Regions from separate parts of the Homo sapiens genome. Here region 1 is linked to region 2. The links are contacts of gene promoters, found by promoter capture Hi-C in blood cells and fetal thymus (Javierre and others, 2016). All regions are on one chromosome and are shown on one strand. The core of a region is centred on a gene start or on the middle of the fragment in contact, and the rest is flanking DNA. Distances in the headings are between cores, read along the strand shown. Region 1 holds the start of DPH6 (diphthamine biosynthesis 6). Region 2 holds the start of NSMCE3 (NSE3 component of SMC5/6 complex).

Region 1 (3,034 bases), core at 387-2,886, 6.3 Mb before region 2:
GCTGTATCATTTTAAGTGTGTTTCACGTATTTATCTCCTCCAATTAGACTGCAAACTTCTTAAATACTTGACTCATTTGGTAAATATTCATAACTGCAAAATCTTAAAGCTGTATGATTCTAGACGCTAAAACTGATATGTAGACTGTCACTGCTCTAGTCACCCCTACTATTAGAGTTGAGAATGTCAAAATAAAATTGAATGCTTACTATGTACCTGGCATAATTTTAAGTTCCCTACATATATTAACTTACTTAATTCATGCCTTTGGCATCATCCCTCATGACTTTCTTTCTCTTGTATCCCATATCGAATTTGATTCTATTGGCTCTATCTTCAAAATAGAGCTGGAATCCTCTTACTTCTCACCAAATTCACCATGTTGATTCTAGGCTCCGCCATCTCTCTACTGGAACACTGTAACAGCTTCCTAATAGGTGGATTCTCAACACTGCAATCCTTTTAAAATTTTAAGTCACACCCTTCAAAAGTCTGCAATTACCTACAAGACCCTATATAATCCTTCCCCTCCATCACCTTAACCTGCTCTCCACTACTCTCTGCTTTGCTCAATCTGCTCCAGCAACACGGATCTGCCTTAATCTTCCACAAACACACAACGCACCTAGAGCCTTCGATTTTTTTTTCTTGTCTGGAGCACACCCCAATCATACACATAGCGAACTCTCCTTATTTAAATTGGCTCAACTCTCATCTTACCAATAAGGCCTACATAGACACGATTTAATTCTGCAATTTGCCTCTCCACCTCTCTCCTGACTCTCCCCCACCGCACCCCGCCCCTTTCCAATAGCACTTTTCACTCTTCAACAGACTATTTACCTTTAAGATATGTATTGTCTGTTCTCTCCATCCCCATTTAAGCTCTATGCCCGGAATGCCGGGTTTTTGTTTTATTTACGGTTGTATCCACAGAGTCTAAAACAGTGCCTGGTACACGAAAGGCACTCAATACATACTTGGCAAATAAACTTAGAAGCTAGATTTTCTTTCTGCAAGGCCATTGCTCTTTGGTGAAGAGCCTGGCCTGGCCTTGTCAAATACACAAGCTTGACCAAGAGCCAAAGCCACAGAGGGCCTAGAGGTGGGGGGGGCTAGCCCCAGATTTAAAAATTACCACAGCCCCTGGGGATCTGAGTTTCACATCTGGACACACAGGTTTGGAGGACAGAGGAGATGTAAGTTAAAAAGCAGAAGTGTACAGTTGTTTCTGTTCTGTGGGGTGAGGAAGGACAAATTTCTTCTGCGCTTGCACGTCCGCAACTGTGTCAATTTGCAGCAATTGGGACGCTAAATCCCCTCTTACCAAAACAAATCCTGCGCCACTGGGCTTGGGCTCTGCAACGCGGACCTTGCCCTTCCCCCGGCAGCTTCAGTGCCCTCACTTAGGTGGTTAGGCCGTGCCTAAACCTCATTCTTTCCTGGGCCGAGATGTCCCTGCCACAGGGTCAAGGTGCCAAGGTGCCGCACCCTCCGCGCTCAGGTGTCCCGCAGGCAGCCGCGGGGCTCGCAGCGCCGATCCGCGGACAGGCGGCGGAGCGAACACCCGGGCGAGGCCCCGCGGTGCGTCACGCGAGCTGCGGCGCGACCTCCTGGCTCCCGCCCGCGCTCGCCGCACGCACGCGCACTGCGCCCAGCATGAGGGTCGCGGCTCTGATCAGGTAATGCGGTCCTGGAGCCGCCTCCTTCCTCCTAGGCCAGGCTCTCGTCCCTTCCAGCCGCCGCTAGCGCCGAAAGAGTGGGTGTCTCCGTCTGAGTCGCGCGTTGGGGGTTCCGCGGCTCCTCCGAGCCACAGGAAGAGGCGGAGCCTTCGCTGTTGCCGGCCCGCATGTGCCTCGGCCCCTGGCTGGCGCGCCTCCTCCCTGTCTGTCGCTCTCTGGTCTTCTAGCCCTTAAACTTGGATTCCCATTGGATTCAAGTGGGAAATTAAAAAAAGTACCGACGCCTGGGCCCCACCGCCAGAGGGATTGGTTTAATTACTTCTGTGCGACCCGGCGTCTGATTTTTTTTTTTCAAGCTCTAATGAGCCGTGAAGTTTGGAGCCACTACCTTATTCCATCAACTCAGTTAATAACCCTCGCCCTTTCCCCCTCGCTTTCTTCGTCCTCTTCTGTAGTTCCTTTGGTCAGCTGGGTCCGCCGCAGCCTGGCTTCCTCCCTAGTTGTAAGTGTTTCCGCCCATCCCAAGAAGTCCACCCCTCCCTCATCTTCACAGATGTGGATTGCTTATGGCATGTGTGTGTTTCTGCCTTTGGGCACTCAAGTACAGAGATCTCTCTTCGTGGTAGAGACCGAATTGTACTAGTCTTATGCTAGATCCAGTTGCTGTTGCTTCGGACTCTCATCATTGCTTTAGAGTGACCTTACCCTATACTCCGTATTCCAAAAGGAGTTTGATGTCTGTAGTAACCAAATCATAAATTTAAGTGTCTAAATAAGTCCTGTGACTGACAAACCAAAAACAAACCTGCTTAAATATTTCCATACTCAATCTATAAACTGAGGCAGAAGGGAACACACTAGCAACATTAAAAAGTTAGACTACTTAAATACTTGTTTCATGAGATTTTGCCCTGTAGAGTGTCTTAGATACAGTGCAACGATGTGCTTGCTTTTGTAATCCAATTGAAGATTTCATAAACGTTTTCGTTAAGTCCCTTAGGTAATTGATACTGGCTGTAAGTTTTGACCTATTAAGGACTTGATATGAGATTTCAGACCTACTGTAGTGTCTGGAATATTCCGGTTCCCTTTCCTTCAATGTCATTTTTAGGAGACTAGACCATAATGTCACAATAATTATTGTTGTTCAGTAAATGTCCTCTGTAACATAAATGATTAAGCTTTAACCATTGTGTCTTATTTTAAGAATTAAAAGTACCCCAGGAAGTGAATAATTCAAATTTACATCGCTTGCCAAAAGTTTAACGATTAAAGTAAAGCACAACAAACAAAGACTTAGAAGTATTGGAGGGGAGGAGAGAAGATTGGTAGAGTCAGTTACACTAAATAAC
Region 2 (3,228 bases), core at 117-2,616:
TGAGGATATAGTTGCATCTTGTGTGGAACAGTAAGTTATTACTCATTGCATACCAGATTTTAGCATACTTGCATTAGTTCATGGAATATGATTTTACATTTACTATTGCAGTTCCAGTGCCATTATCAGATTGCATTTTCCTACTGAATTACAAACAAAAGTGTTATGCTACTAACAATTAACAAAATTTTAATAAGGTTGTGTTTGATGCTATTACTCAGATAATGTGTTCTAAATTGCTTTCCTTTGAATATATTTGCATTAAAGAGGAACTCAATTTGGTTCTTTGAAGAGTTTATCCACTTTCTGGGTAGCTTTAAAAAGACACAGGGAAATTCAGTTTCTTCTTTGCAAGTAAATAGAGAAGAAACAAATTTGCTAAGATCTGTAGAAGTCATGGCAGCAGACTGCTGATGGTTTGAGTTAATGAAATGACTCATTTTGGCTACTTGAGTTGCACAATTAAAATATACAGTAGAGACTGTATATCACATCATAGATGAGAGATAAATCCCCCAGTGTTCTCTTTTTTTTCCTCAAAGCTAATATATTATGAATTAAGAAATTTAAGAGCTCCACATTATTGCAATTCTTGATCAGTGATGCCCCAAATTAAGTAGTAATCTCTTGAGAGTGCACGTTTGTTTGCAGCATTCCTCTTACCCATTTCTGCTAAAATTGTGGTTGTGACGAAAGCAGTTGTTTTCCAAAAGATAAACCCATGTGACCAAGCTAAAACATTTACCTAATACTGACACGTTTTTTGTGGTCTTCTCATAGTTGTCTAGCTAAAGGAGTTTAATGCAGAGAATATAAATACGGAAATAGTGAAACTGAAGTCCTGCTTGCGCAGAAAGCCTGCAGCCGACTTTGGTTTTTAACAGACTCCACGGGGCATTAGAGAAAGTAACTGGGGGCAGTGGGATGGAGGGTATGAAATTGGGTGGAGGGACGAAAACTAAGAGCCCTCTGGGTCTTTTATGTCCTTCTACATTTTGTGTAGAAATAAATGTTTTTACTTTACTTCCACGGTCGGCCCTTCCTCTTCACCTTTTTTTTTTCTCACACGTTCATCCTCTGAATTCTTTCCGTTTACAAATGCTCCCGATTTAGAAACTCATAATACTGTCTGTAAAACTTGCCTGAGCCTGTGTGGTCTGAATTTAGCGACACACTTGTTTAGGAGTTTCGGTTCTCGCTCTCTGTTTGCATGGTTTGGTAACAACACTTCACTATACTAAAAATCATCGCCCGGACCTGCAGGGCTGCACGGAAAACGCTGTTCCTTTTGGTACCCGCCGCAGCCGCGCAGGCGCACCGCCCAGCCGCCCTGACGCAAGGCGCAGGCTTCATGACGCAGCACGCAGTCTCAGCCGACACTGCGCGCGCCTCCAGGCACCGGCGTTAGCGGGTCGCCGACCCGCAATCCCCGCCGCGGCTGCTTGCCTACCGGAGTGTGCGCCGGCACCTGCCGCCGGAGACATGTTGCAAAAACCGAGGAACCGGGGCCGCTCTGGCGGCCAGGCCGAGAGGGACAGAGACTGGAGCCATAGCGGAAACCCCGGGGCTTCGCGGGCCGGGGAAGACGCCCGGGTTCTCAGAGACGGCTTTGCCGAGGAGGCCCCGAGCACGTCCCGCGGGCCGGGCGGCTCGCAGGGGTCGCAGGGCCCCTCGCCTCAGGGCGCCCGCCGGGCCCAGGCCGCCCCCGCCGTGGGGCCCAGGAGCCAGAAGCAGCTGGAGCTGAAAGTGTCCGAGCTGGTGCAGTTCTTGCTGATTAAAGACCAGAAGAAGATTCCGATCAAGCGGGCCGACATACTGAAGCACGTCATCGGGGACTACAAGGACATCTTCCCCGACCTCTTCAAACGGGCCGCCGAGCGCCTCCAGTACGTCTTCGGGTATAAGCTGGTGGAACTTGAACCCAAGAGCAACACTTACATCCTCATCAACACCCTGGAGCCTGTGGAGGAGGATGCCGAGATGAGGGGTGACCAAGGCACGCCCACTACGGGCCTCCTGATGATCGTCTTAGGGCTCATCTTTATGAAGGGCAACACCATCAAGGAAACTGAAGCCTGGGACTTTCTGCGGCGCTTAGGGGTCTACCCCACCAAGAAGCATTTAATTTTCGGAGATCCAAAGAAACTCATTACTGAGGACTTTGTGCGACAGCGTTACCTGGAATACCGGCGGATACCCCACACCGACCCCGTCGACTACGAATTCCAGTGGGGCCCGCGAACCAACCTGGAAACCAGCAAGATGAAAGTTCTTAAGTTTGTGGCCAAGGTCCATAATCAAGACCCCAAGGACTGGCCAGCGCAGTACTGTGAGGCTTTGGCAGATGAGGAGAACAGGGCCAGACCTCAGCCTAGTGGCCCAGCTCCATCCTCTTGAAAGGTGGATTCAGAGGGACCCCCGGGACAAGGGTCTGAGACCCAAAGGCACAGTTTAGAGGATTGGGGGAAGGGAGAACGAACCCAGGGAGCATATTGCTGTAAACGCTTCAATGTGTGTAGCTTTAGGATGTGTTTGCAAAGTTTTGTTTTTTTAATGTTGTGTTATTTTGCTCCAGATTTTCATCTATAAACAAAGGAGCATTTGTTTTGATTTTACTCTTTTTGGTATAAAAAATTTTGCTAGCTTAGTAAAACGAATTGGAAAACTTGACTATGATCTGGAACAGATAATGCAAGAAGGAACACATAAGTAAGTTGCTTTGGTGCCAAGAAAATAAAAAAGCTATTATCAGGTCTCCTAACTACCCCAGTTTGTAAGGAAAAATAAAAGTTTTTATAAAATTAAAAAAAATAATTGCCTATATCCTTATTATGTTAACCTATTTTATTTTTCTATATTTCGTACATATATAAGTATTATTCATGGTTCCAAGCAATGAGTGTAATGTATTTTCTCCCAATAGTAATTGTTTATATTCATAATTATTCAGCTCTGCTGCTAAACACGTAGTTCCACTTCGTTTTTTTCTTCTTGCTACTGTAGTTATTACAATAAATACTGTATTTTTGAAGCACTTAAGCATTGTGTGTTTTTTAAATCGTGGGTCATGAGAGAATTTCATGACTGGAAATCAACATCTTAAAGTTTTTGCTACATATTAAGGTCAATGCTGTTTTGTAGAAGTTGTTTCACTTTTGTGTGAAACAAAATCAGGATCATGAGGTGAAATATATTTCTCACTGTGGATCTCAAAAAGGCTTATAAAAC

What was found. Contacts are between HindIII fragments. The CHiCAGO score rates a contact against its expected background, and 5 or more counts as called.
Region 1: the fragment with the promoter of DPH6 here is called in contact with the fragment with the promoter of NSMCE3 in region 2 in 1 of 17 cell types (total CD4 T cells); the score reaches 5.4 in total CD4 T cells.

The regions. Positions count from the first base shown.
Region 1 is chr15:35,544,767-35,547,800 of GRCh38, reverse strand. DPH6 (diphthamine biosynthesis 6) reads left to right here and starts at 1,636. Exons shown (of 9, transcript NM_080650.4): 1 at 1,636-1,682. The coding sequence starts at 1,660. It overlaps DPH6-DT (DPH6 divergent transcript), which reads right to left and starts at 1,606. Exons shown (of 3, transcript NR_038251.1): 1 at 1,328-1,606. RefSeq lists silencers at 1,164-1,213, 1,514-1,653 and an enhancer at 1,701-2,635. The HindIII fragment of the contact is 1,793 bases long and covers 1,073-2,865 here.
Region 2 is chr15:29,267,960-29,271,187 of GRCh38, reverse strand. NSMCE3 (NSE3 component of SMC5/6 complex) reads left to right here and starts at 1,366. Exons shown (of 1, transcript NM_138704.4): 1 at 1,366-3,228. The coding sequence starts at 1,483. The coding sequence ends at 2,397. All of the region lies in intron 2 of ENTREP2 (endosomal transmembrane epsin interactor 2), which reads left to right. RefSeq lists enhancers at 1,070-1,569, 1,570-2,071. The HindIII fragment of the contact is 8,019 bases long and covers 1-3,228 here.